2 separate regions of the Homo sapiens genome follow, and region 2 is linked to region 1. The links are contacts of gene promoters, found by promoter capture Hi-C in blood cells and fetal thymus (Javierre and others, 2016). All regions are on one chromosome and are shown on one strand. Each heading gives the region's core, a stretch centred on a gene start or on the middle of the fragment in contact. The rest is flanking DNA. Distances are from core to core; before and after follow the strand shown.

The links. Contacts are between HindIII fragments. The CHiCAGO score rates a contact against its expected background, and 5 or more counts as called.
Region 2: a contact is called between a fragment that was not itself captured here and the fragment with the promoter of SH2D4B in region 1, in 1 of 17 cell types (M0 macrophages). The highest score is 5.7, in M0 macrophages.

The regions. Positions count from the first base shown.
Region 1 is chr10:80,536,384-80,542,804 of GRCh38, forward strand. SH2D4B (SH2 domain containing 4B) reads left to right here and starts at 1,519. Exons shown (of 8, transcript NM_001388272.1): 1 at 1,519-2,132. The coding sequence starts at 1,949. RefSeq lists enhancers at 3,223-3,362, 4,400-4,579, 4,730-4,789, 4,960-5,079. The HindIII fragment of the contact is 17,935 bases long and covers 1-5,457 here.
Region 2 is chr10:81,175,811-81,182,231 of GRCh38, forward strand. No RefSeq gene overlaps it. Among named protein-coding and RNA genes, the nearest start is that of LINC02655, 530 kb to the left of the region's middle. RefSeq lists an enhancer at 1,809-3,008. The HindIII fragment of the contact is 1,815 bases long and covers 1,824-3,638 here.

The sequences.
Region 1 (6,421 bases), core at 269-2,768:
CAGCGTTGTCCCTGCCCCGTGCCCTCTTGTGGTCGTAGGTATCTGGCGGCCCGGGAAAGACAAAAAGAAGCTGCCCGCAGGAGCCCAGACCCTGGGGGCCTTCCTCCCCTTGTCTCCTCTTTGGACTCGGGGGTCTCCCACCAGCCACGGCGAGGGGGAGAAAGAGAATAGCTGGGCAGAGGCTAGGGAAGACCCCCGGTCTCAGAAACTGAGGGGAGCCAGGACTCCCGGTGGGGGAGTCGGTGCAAGCCCTGAGGTGGGTGGATGGGAGTCCAGGGCCACAGCTCTGCAGCGGACAGGCGAGTCCTGTGGCGGCTCTAGGAAGGTCTGGGCACACTGGGACCAGCTAGCTGGACCTGGGTGGGGAGGGGTGGGGCGTCTGACTCCACTCCTGTGACCTGGACATTGCCTAGCTGAGCAGGAGCTTTGACCCTATGGGCTTACAGCTCATCTGAATCTGCTTAGTCCATCTTCCTGTTGTGTTAACCTTGCAGAGGGGGAAGAATGCCAACTCTCCACCCCTCTTCCATCACTCTTGGGTACCTGATCCACCTTCCACCCTCATGGGCAAGGAAGGGGACAGGAAGGTCACCAATCCAACCAAGCCACAGTGCCAAATCCTGTTGGTTCGTTTGTTTTCCCTTGGTTGGGTTATGTTTTCAAACCATCAACAGATTCATAGTTGCTAGTGGATGTCAAATTTCAAAACGGGGGAGTCCCAATACAGTGACTTGTCCATTAGGAAGCCATAGGCAAGCCACTTACTTTCTCTGAGCTTCAATATCCTTGTCCCAATAAGAAGGCATCTGTGATTTGCTCTGAGCACATATTTAGGGTGAGCTTTCACCCTAAAGATCTCAGCAACGGCAGCTTCTACCCACCTTCACACACCAAAGAGAGGGTGGCTTCCCTCCCAGCAGAAGGCAACATCCCGCCATTCCAGTGTGCTTCTGATCAGGGCACAGAGAAGAGCCAGTTTCATCTTCTTTCTTTTTGGTCAACTCCAGGCATCTGCAACAAACAAGATTAACAACGACCATTAAAACTGGCCCCTGGAGGGTTTATCTGTCAGCCACGCATGGCTGCAGGATCTCATTATATATAGGCCAAAGGGAAAGGATGTCTGCTTCCTTTCTGTCCTGGAATTCCAAGATAAAATCCCCTCCAGTTGTCTCTACTGATTCCATTTTGTTTTCTTTCTTGGCTGTAACACAGATAGGAGGAAAAATCTTTCCTCCCCCAAGGCAGAGTTTTAAACGCATCATCTCAGAATGCCAAATGTTCTGGAAAGGAAGAAAGTTGGCAGCGAAGGAACCCGCAGAGAGAGGGGCTGAGAGGGCTGAGGGGCCCAGCAGCTTCTGGCAGGCTCCTCTGGTCTGTGTTTGAAATTGGCTGAAAAGACATGGAATTTAGTAGGCAAGTCTGCCTCCTTCTCCTCCTCTTATCTGCAGAGGAGAGATCAGTTCCCAGCTGGCCGGGGCAGTGTCATTGATATAGCTGGTGTCATTGTTACCTTCCACTAACAGATCACTCGACACCTACCAGCCCAGGCAGGGCTGGGACTGGGCATTTCCTGGCTGAGCTGGAGGCTTGGGCCCTTCCCATTGTCTCAGAACCCCAGGTGATGCCAAGACATGGGCTCTCCTGGGATGCCGTGCTTGGTGACCCAGGAGAAGGACTAGATTGCTCCTGGTGGTTGCTCCCCCTTGCAGAGTCCCACCTGCCCCTTTGGGTCCTGTTGCCTGGCCTCTTTTGCTGTCCTGGGTAGAGGAGATGAGTTCGTCGCTGGCTGCAAGCTGAGGCCAACTGACAATGCTGCACAGAGAAGGGGCACCGAGAGTGGCCCCGGATTGAGCAGTCCGTAGTGCAGAGCAGCCCCTCGGGCGTTCTGCCTGGCCCTGCTTCCCCTGCTGGCTGCCCTTCTGGTGCGTGCATCCCAGGTGGCATCATGCTGCAGCAGATCCTGCACGACATGTACATCGACCCCGAGCTCCTTGCCGAGCTCAGCGATGTGCAGAAGCACATCCTCTTCTACAAAATGCGGGAGGAGCAGCTGAGGCGCTGGAAGGAGCGGGAGACTTGGGAGGCCCTGGCCCAGGACGAGGGTCTCAGGCCTCCAAAGACCAAGCGAGGTACGTGGCTGGGAGTCACAGAGAGGTAGGCCACCAGTCCCCCAGGAGGTAGAAAAATTAGCAGGGCCAGGCTGTGCCCTTCTTCAAGATGGGCACTGGGGTGATGAGGGCTGGGGGCTTGAAACCCTTGTCTTGTGGGCATCAGGTCCCATGAGCCTGTGCTTTTGCCTTTTGGCCAGGACCTTAGGGCTTCGAGGCTGCTGCAGAGGCTGTCCAGCGGCCCTTATTGGAGTCGGGGAGTTGGGACTTGCTTTGTCTTGTTGTGGAAGGCCCGAGTTCTGGGAAGACACCATTGAGACTTCAGATTGTGCTCCGACGTGGTTGGCAATGGTAGGGTGAACGACGGCATATTTGTGACCCTTGCCATTGGTTCTGGGCCAGAGTGTGGTGTAGATATGCAGTTCCTTTCTCCTTGGCATGCGTGGCACACCAGTTCTTGGCTAGGGCCCCTTCTGTGGACTGTGCCTCTCCCTCCAGATCCTCCGGCAGGAGGATGCTGTGGGTTGTCTCTGGAGCCCCACTGGGCATCCGGAGAGAGGGCATCAGGGAACGTCCCACACAATGAATGACCATCCCCAAATGGTCGTAGCAACTGCAGATGAGAAGCAAGGGCCTAGCCTACATTTCAGGTGTTTTGTATGCAAAGTCATGTGCCAGTCAATCCTATGGACTGGTACACCTGTGGGTGAAGGAAATCATCCAGGACCCCTGGGCCAGAAACTGGCAGGCTGCTGAGGCTTGGCTTGGCACAGGACTCAATCCTGCCAGGGATTGTAGTTTCTGTGGATGCTGCATGCACTTTACAGTTTGCAAGGCTTATGTGCCTTCACCCTTTGAAGTTTTCAATCCAGAACAAAGTCCTGTTTCAGGGCTGAGCACACAGCTCCCTTGGTGATCTGGCTCTTCTCCATGCCAGGCTCACTGCTGGCCAGTCCCCACCAGGTGCCACAGGCCACACCCACATCATCTGGACATGCTTGCTCTTGTCTCTGGTCTTCACATGAGTGGCTCTCACCGTTGGGAATGTCCTTCTGCCTTCATCCACCTGACAGACTCCATCAGGAGTGGCCCCCCTGCCCTGGAGTGTTCAGGGATGCTCTTGCATAGGGCAGTACTTGCTCCTCTGTGGCTGCCTGGCATGTAGGACCCACGCCTGCCCTGGCATTTGCCACCCTGTCATTGTCATTCCTCATCTGCTTGCCTGGCTCTCCGATGGGCTCAAAGGCACTGGTGTGTGAGGGCTTCCTCCACTCTATCTTCCTCCCCTGGGCCCAGCACAGAGGTGGCACATGGTGTTAAATCCTTGTTTTGAACAAGACACAGCAGGACCCTGCCGGGGAGGTTGGGGCAGAGCTGTGACTTGGCTGCAGGTGGCTGCTGCCAAAGCTGGGGCCTTCCGGGCTGGGCTGCGCTGGCAGCTGCATCACTAACTGGTGAAATGACAAGCCACCTTGCCAGCACCACCCGGCCTGAGCCCTGGGGACTCATGATGCCTGCATGATGACTCTTCTTGGAGGGAGACAGATGCCTAAAAATTTAACTGCAAAAATATTTATACAGAGATTTGTCACACATAGACATCTACATTTTCATGTATAAATTATACATTAAACTCATTTGAGTTTCTGGTGCAGAAGATCCTTTTTCTGGTAATTAATTTTCTGATTTATAAAGAATGGAAAAGCAGGAAAGCACGCCGAGGAATGTGTGTATCCCAGGTCAGGATCCCGCTTGGATCCTGGCTCTTTGCTTCGGTCCTGCCTTTTGGAACTGTCTGGGCATGCCACTGGGGAGCCTGGGGGCTGGCCCTGCCCAGGAGCCGGAAGAGCTTTCGGCCGGAGGGTCCAGGATATACAGTATCTGCTTCATGTCCTGGGGTCGTGATGAAGGGTGGCAACAACTTGTGAGCTTTACGTTGACTGGGTGCCTACCCAGCCCTTGCTGCTCCCGTGTCCCTGCGGGGTGGCAGGGCAAGCTCCCTGATTTCATTGCAGATAAGGAAGGTGAGGCTCAGAGAAGTGATGCGCTACATCCAAGGTCATCCAGCTGCTACATCTCATGACTTGGATCTGGGGTCTGGTGACTGATTTTTTTTCTGTTCATTCACTTCCAAACTCGGAACTCCAATTAAACAAGTGAGCTGTGCACACATTCACTTGTTCACTCATTCACCAATTCATTCACTTATCCAGCATTACTATGTGCTGATTTCAGTGAATGGGGCAGTGCTTGTCCTGGAGACGGTGGGTAGATGGATCATAGGGAACACAGCCAACTCGAGTGCCAAGGGTGAGGCTTGGTTCAAAGCAGCCGTGCCGTGTCCCAGGGCGGGAATTGTGCGGGGACGGGCTCCACGGAGGAATCTTCTCTTCCTTCCCTTGATGTTGCCAGAGGACTCAGGAGGCTCTCCAGATGCTGGTGAGACCCCAGCCCCAGTTGATGTCCAGGCTCTTGAAACTGTCTTGAGAAAGAACTCGGGAATGAGTCAGAATGATAGGAAAGGCAAGAAACTGTTAGTGAGAAGCGAAAGTACACACTTGAGAGAGAAGTGCGGGCGTGCTCATGAGAACGTGTCACACCCAGCAGAGTCTGGGTTTCTAATTTTATGGGTGTTTCTTTAATTAGGGGATGGAACAATTATTAGGTGTTCTGGAAGAGGAGGAGATTTCAGGGAACCCCCTGGGTTACTGTCTCCTTTCTCCCTTCTTTGGGTTTGCCCAGAAGAGCCATGGACAAGTCACCCTGAGTGGGATTTCAGCTGTTTTTACTCTCTTCCTTTGGGTTTTCTGTTATCTTGTTGTTTCTTTGTCTTGTTCTTGTTTTAGCTGTTGTTTGGGTTTTTCCATGCTCCTGTGACCACCCAGTGCTATTCTTGTCTCATTGACAGGCATCCTCTTTCCTGGTCCCCTCCCTACACATTTTTTTTCTGAAGGAAGCACCTGCTGTAGCCCTGCTGAGCTGTTTGCTGGCCCCTTGGGATCCCTGAGCATGACGTGGGTTAGTCCTGGTCAGCCTAGAGTGACACTGGGCCTCCTCCGGGCCATCGTCCCCAGTGCTCTAAAGCCTTCCCTCTCCCCTCTTTTCTGGGAACATTCCTCGCTCCTGGCAAGCCTGGCTTTGCCATCCCTTGGGCTCAAGTAACACTCCCCATGTCCCTACAGACAGGCAGGCAGGACAAGGTGTGCCTTGTGCCTGAGAACCTCACAGCCCCGGAGTTGTGCCTGGTGAGGGTGCGAGTAAACACTGGTGATGTGAATCATTCTCGTTTACAGAACCTAGGAGGTTTTCTTGATTCTGAGATCCACATTTGGAACCCACAGAAGTAAGCTTGGGTGAAAGCTTAGAGGCGGACTGTGAAAGGTAGGAAGGAGAGGAGATGAGGGCACGGCTGGACACATCACTCCTCTGAGCACATGGCATTTCTTTTCTGTTTTCACTTTACGCTTTGGCAAGAACCCTCTGATGTTCTATGCTGTGGTGGATGGTGTGGACCCCTCAGCTTGGTAGGTTTTTTAAATCTAACATCATGCTTATTGTGCTATCACGTTTCTGACAAAGTTCGTTGTCCAGTATATTGAGTATATTGAGACTCAGAGAAGGCATGTTATCACATTATGTCCCAGCAAGACTTCAGTCAAACCCCTCTAGCATGGCCACGACCTGTGCAAGCTCGTTCTCTCCTCATTCTCCTTGGCCACCACAGGAATGCACATCCTGTGTTAGGAATTATGAACTTCACAACCCTGTGGACTCCTCTCTGCTTACTCAGTCATCCCAGGTTCTCAGGGCCAGAGCTGGGTGTGACCAGGGGACACAGGACTGAGGACACATGTCCACACTACTGACCCAGGAAGCTTCCCTGTTTGGACCTGTCAGTTCTATCTTTTTTTTTTTTTTTTTCAGACAGAATCTCACTCTATTGCTCAGGCTGAAGTGCAGTGGTGTGATCTCGGCTCACTGCTACTTCTGCCTCCCGGGTTCAAGCGATTCTCCTGTCTCAGCCTCCCAAGTAGCTGGGATTACAGGCGCCCACCACCACAACCAGCTAATTTTTGTATTTAATAGAGACATGGTTTCATCATGTTGGCCAGGCTGGTCTTGAACTCTTGACCTCAGGTAATCCGCCCTCCTCGGCCTCCCAAAATGCTGGGATTACAGGCACGAGCCACTGTGCCTGGCCCTGTCAGTTTTATCTTGATTGACAGTTTCTGCTACTGTTAAATTGGTTCCTCTGTGACCGCCTCTCATCCTTCTGGATGCTTTTGCCTGGGAGCCAGACGTCTTTCCCT
Region 2 (6,421 bases), core at 1,481-3,980, 640 kb after region 1:
TGCTCTGTCGCCCAGGCTGGAGTGCAATGGTGCGGTCTTGGCTCACTGCAACCTCCGCCTCCCAGGTTCATGCCATTCTCCTGCCTCAGCCTCCTGAGTAGCTGGGATTATAGGCACACACCACCATGCGCGGCTAATTTTTGTATTTTTAGTAGAGATGGGGTTTCACCATGTTGGTCAGGCTGGTCTCAAACTCCTGACCTCGTGATCTGCTCGCCTCGGCCTCCCAAAGTGCTGGGATTACAGGTGTGAGCCACTGCACTCGTCTGGAAACTTAACTTTTTAATAAAATAAATTTTTAAACATACTGCTTCCATGAATATTACTTACATATCAGATCTCACCTCCACAAAGTCAATTTTTTACATTAAAAAATCTAAAGTATAGACAAATATAATATTTTCCCCAGTTTTTTAGATATAATTTTACACAGAAAAATTTTGAAGACAGTGCACAGATCTTTCCATTATTAATTTTTATCCCACTTTTTTACTTTGTGCATGCTCTTTCTATGTATATATGTTTAATATTTTTTCAGGATACTGATACTATATGTTAGTATTTAATTATAATATATTATGTCCTATCTATATGTAAATAATATAATTCAATTATATAACAACTATAATGGCTTCCCTCTATACATGTTTTCCAAAAACTAATATAATGTTATTTTTAATTATATGCCATAATTAATTGCATAACATTAATGTATCAAATAGTTAATATATTAATAATTATATTTTAGATATAGTTTAGATTTCAATGAACCATAGATAAAAACTTAGGGGATTAAAAAAAAAAGAATAACTGCACCGAACATGTAGACTATTTTTCTTCTTATTTTTTAAAACAATACAGTATAACAACTTTTACATAGAATTTACATTGTACTAGGTATTGTATGTAATCTAGAGGTGATTTAAAATATAAGGGTGGATGGGCATAGATTATATGCAAACACTATGCCATTTTATATAAGGAACTTAAGCGTCTGTGAATTTTGGTATCCTCAAGTGGTGGGTCCTGAAACCAATGCCCTGCTGATACTGAGGGATTACTCTACATATATACATATATGTATATGTGTGTGTGTGTGTGTGTGTGTGTGTATACACACGTATATGTGTCGGTGTGTATTTTCCAGAATATTATTTCCAGAAGACCAAGAGGAGAGGAGAGAGTGATGAAAAAGTAGCAGCTAATATGCTTGGAAAACTTTAATTTCTATTTCCTAAGATCAAGAACATTTTTTACACATACATAGTACAATCATAGCATGGTTACCATGTAGAGTACACTTTGACAATAATGAGGGATAATGAATTAAATATTGAAAATATTTTCCATAAAGCATTTTAAAATGTAAAGTATGATGATATTGAAGAACAACAATGAAAAGAAGTTATACAATGGCTTTTTCAAAAAGAAGCAATGAGCCTATGGCTATGATGCACTAGCTGTATATAATAGATCAACCATTCTTCAGAAGATTAATGGAAAGCTAGTTTTAAAAACAACAAATTTTCTTGATGGTATCTTCAAGGTAGCTAGGATTTGAGACGCCAAGATCTCAGAGAAAAGGAAAGCTCTCTGGGCAGCTAAACGTCCATGGCTTCTCTTCTTAAAACATCCTCAAAACCAACACTAATATAAGTTTAAGTTCCTAATTTCAGCTCTTAGCAGTCTCTTTCCACTGTCAAAAATAGAAACTTGGAACTTAGAGCACTCTCAGGTGGAGTATTTCCAGGCTTTCACTTGAGGTCCCTGAAAGATCACACTGTAAAACTGAGGGTAAATCAGAAAGAAACTAGAACTTACAAAGCTTAAAACCAAGTTTGGTTGTAGAAAAATGATCTACTTTCACTTTAATAGCCTGCTAATATGTACAGAAAATTGCTGGAAAAATACGTTATCTGTAATCTCTTATTTTTTAATACACAATGTTTAGGAACTGTTGGAAACAGATAATCGGTGCCACGAAGAAAAGTCAGCACAGAGACAAAGGATCTCTCAGCAAGGCAATCTTTACTTTCTGCAGAAAGGGTGCCCTTCACAGATGGAACAGTAGCGAGAGCACATTTGAACAAAGGAAAAGCAGACATATTTATCCCTTAAGCATTTTGGTTGTCCTTACTTCTGTGTCCTGCATCCATTGGCTGGAGCTGGACCTCACAGTCCTAAACTGATACCCGATTTGCTAACAACCTGAAACTTTCCTAAATAGGTAAGTGCAAACAAAGAAGGAGAGGAAGTTGCTTATGAAAGGTTTAAGGAAGCAATAACATTTCCAAATAAGGAAGGAGCATCAGCTATGAGCTAAGACTTGCCTGGGCCTGTCTGGACACGCCTGAGTAAGCCAAAGCAACTAATTGGGCTAAAGTATAAGAACTGATAGTTGATAGAAGGCTTTAGAGTAAGAAGCTATTATTCCTACTGTCTATTATTTTATTTTTAAATCAAGATGAGCTTTGAAGAGGAACTTTTCTACTTTCTACAGGAACCAGTAAACTTACCTGGAAAACTAATTAACAAGAATAAGTTAAAACAGACAATAAAAACAGATTCACAAGGTTGTCAGATATATATTTTTAAGATAACAACTGATAAATATGTTCAGAAAAATAAATGACAGGATGAAGAACTATAGAATTGAAAACTATGACAAATAAAATTATTAATACAATATATAGGATTAATAGCAGGTTATTTATAGCTAAAGAGAAGATTTGTATTCCGGAAAATAGGGCATTAGGACTTCTTCAAAGTAAGACATGGAGAAAAAAGAGTCAAAAAATATAATAATGACTATAATATCTTAGGTGGAATATACTGATAAGTTTTCTTATCTATTGGATACCCACAAGGCAAAAAGAGAGATAATATTTGGGAGAGATTATGGTTAAGAATTTTTAAAATCTGATAAAAGATATAAAGTCATAGAGTCAATGAGCTGAAACAAAAAAAAAAGGCAGGGTAATTACAAAGAAAATCCTACTAAGGCATATCGTAGCCAAATTGCTGAAAATAAAAAATATTGAAAAATTTTAGAACCATTTAAAGAAAAATGTCAGATTGTCTTCAAACGTCAACAAAGGACATACAGCCAATTACACAGTGAAAAGAGCATGAGCCACAAGAAATGAGATATATAAAGTCCCAAAAGAAAATAACTGTAGGCATACAATTTAATACCCAAATAATATATTCTTCCAATTTAATGTGAAAAAGGCATTTTCAAATCAATAAAAGCTGATAGAATTTATTATCAGCAGAACTACATTAAAAGAGACATTAAAAAATATTTTCGAGGCAGAAGAAAGTAGGATCCCAAATAGAAACAAAGAAATACAGGAAGGAAGAAAAATAATGGGAAGGGTAAATATAAAATGAATGTTTACTATTAAAAATAATACTCATGATGTTTTATGGGGTTTGAAATACAAGCAAAATACAAATACTCTGATGGACTTATGTTTTCAGCCATAATCAAATAGATTGGAGGAGACTAAGGCCCCACTGAAGACAGCTAGAAAAGCTGCATAAAATAGGTTTGTTTGTTTTTAGTAATCTGTTTAAAGGCATCAGCTTTGAGCTGGCAAGGCAGCCAGGAGTTGAGAAGCCATATCCTGGAGAGAAGCTTATTGAGATAAACCAACTTCCTGTATGCTAATGAGAATCTCTCAAGGCGTTATCCAAATCTTATCACAGGCAAGAGGGTAAGGAGCTAGGTGTAGAGCAGTGCTAAGGGATAGAGAAGCTAATAGAGCTTTAGGCAACCTACGGAGTTGCGAGACAAAAAAAAATTGCATTTTGGGGCTGCCAAAACAACCAGAATTTAGAAGGCCAAGATCTGATAGAGAAGGCAACTGCAGGCAAGTGAGAACAATACTTAACATAGATTTTCTCCTTTAGTCATTTGTAATTAAGCTTCAAAGGGCAAGTGACAAAATAGCCAAACACAAAGGAGCATAAAAAAAGAGAATAATTTTTGGCAATGTCACGGTGCAAGGAAGACAGATATTTGAATTCAGAACTCAGAAAAAAAGAAGGGGCCCTCAGAAACACTCGCTGGACTCCTGGAAGGTCACTTAGTAGGAGTAGGGGAAAACAGAAATAAATATGTCCTTTCAAAGGCTGCAGAGCAGCCTTGAATGAGCTAAATTTGTGGCTCCATTGAGATGATCTGCTGCTGTACTGCCATCTAGAGGGCAGGGTTAAGCTTTTCTGAAGGAAGATAACATCCATGGCGTCTAAAATGGATGGCATACAATGCAAAATTAGCATTCAATTTAAAAATAAAAAATAAACATTGCGCTTTAAAGATTGCAAAAAGTTATCCCAATTGTATTGTTACTTGAATCTATGTTCCTTGCAATATGTCTTTGCTGTTCTTCCATCAGGAGACAGAGGACATTTCCCCATCCGTTGTATCTAGGCAGACAATGGGTTGAGATGAGCTGTGACTTATATGAATATGCTGAAAGTGATCATGTATCAGTTCAGGGCTCAAGATTTGTGTACTTCTCTCTCTTTCTCTTTCTCCCTCTCTGTCTCTCTGTTTTTGATTCCTATAACCACCACATGAATAGCCTGGTCTAACATATTAGAGAATGAGGGACGACATGGAAGAGAGCCCAGAGCCCATTTGATCTATCTGATATTTCCTAGATCAGTTTAAAGTTCATCTCAAACTTGTGAAAGGGTGAAGCCATGATTGATAGATACACCAACTTCATACCCAGCTGACTGCAGATACATAGTGGAGCCCAAATGAGATGAGAACTACAAGGAGTTGATTGGTAGATTCATGAGCAATAGGAGACACTCAGTTTTGGAGTTGCTTATAATACAGCAGTAGCTAACTGAAAAACTTATTAATAGAAAGTAAGAGAAAAACCAGACAATAGAAACATACCTTTAAATGATCCAGTTATTGAAGATACTAGACATGGGCTTTACAACACCTGTGATTAATATATTCACTAACATTCAGACTAAGAGCCAAGTTGTCAACAGAAAGAGCAGGAAAACAGAATACAATGGAAAAACAACTTTAAAATTCTGAATGAATATGTTTCAATCTAGAATTCTATAGCCCCTGAATATATTTTTCACAATTAAAGTTGAAATAAAAACATCTCTAAGGAATTAAAAAGGCACAAAAAAGAGAGAGATTATTACCTGTAGAACCTCACAAAATTTAAATAAAATGTTAATGGCAGAATACTTCAGTCACTAGGAAAACTTAAAAAAATAACCCTAGATTACCCCGCCCCACAAATGCAGAGAGGTGAAGAGCAACAGAAAGTGTCATATATGGATATAAATGAATAAATATTGAGTATACAAAAATTTTAAAATAATATTAGGTGATGACTAAAATACATATAAAAATACATGTCAACAATTTTACAGGAGAGGGACAAGTGGAGTTAAAGAAACCCCAAATTCAATAAATTCTTGGAACTAGATAAAATTAATACTTATAAATATCATGAGTAAAACTGGGGGCCTCCATACAGACTTGAAGAGAGTATTTTGAACAACTTTATGGCACTAAATTTAAAAAATGTAGTTAAATGGAAAACTTCATTTAAAAAGATAATTTATTAAAATCAACCCAAGATGAAATTTAAAATCTGTATTATTGTATTTTTATTACTGTGGTTAAATCTGTAATTGAGTATTTTCTGCCAACAACATGAGGCTGTGATGGTTTCACTGGTAAATACCTAGAGTTGTTTTCATTCCTTTTTTAATTGCCAATTTTGAAATTTATTTCTTGTGACAATGCTGCAAGGTAGATTAACCCGTTTCACAAATTAGGAAACTGAGATTTAAAGAGTGTGTGAATAAAGGTTAGATTTGACTTTACGTAATAATAAAAAAAGTTGCTCAAAGAAAACAGGAGTTTTTTCTCTTATGCGACCATGAATCTCAGTAATTTCATTCATAATATGGTATTCATAATATTGCTTTTCTAAAAGATGGAGTTTTTGTCAGATGATTTCTTAGGGATCGATAATTCTAGCAGGGAAGAAAAATCAAATTAGGTTTGTATTATGTAACTTTGCAAATCTCTATTTTGTGTTATATATTCAAACTTCTGGGGATTCTTGAGTTCTACTATTTGTTTTGTTAAGCTAAAATTTTCTGTGAATTATTGGAAATCAGTCGTTTTCTGTGTCTTTTACCGAGACAAGGAACTAAGCCTGCAGATTTTGTATTCGAGACAGCATTATTAGTATACTCTGTTTCAATGAAAACTGAAAGCATACATCCGTTCATTTACTTCACTCATTCAACAAGTATTTTGTGATCATCTATGTTGTGATAGATATAGAGCAAACACCTAATTCATGCCATCATGAAGTTTGTCATGCATAGAAAAGGACAGTCATTAATCAAAAAAAAATTT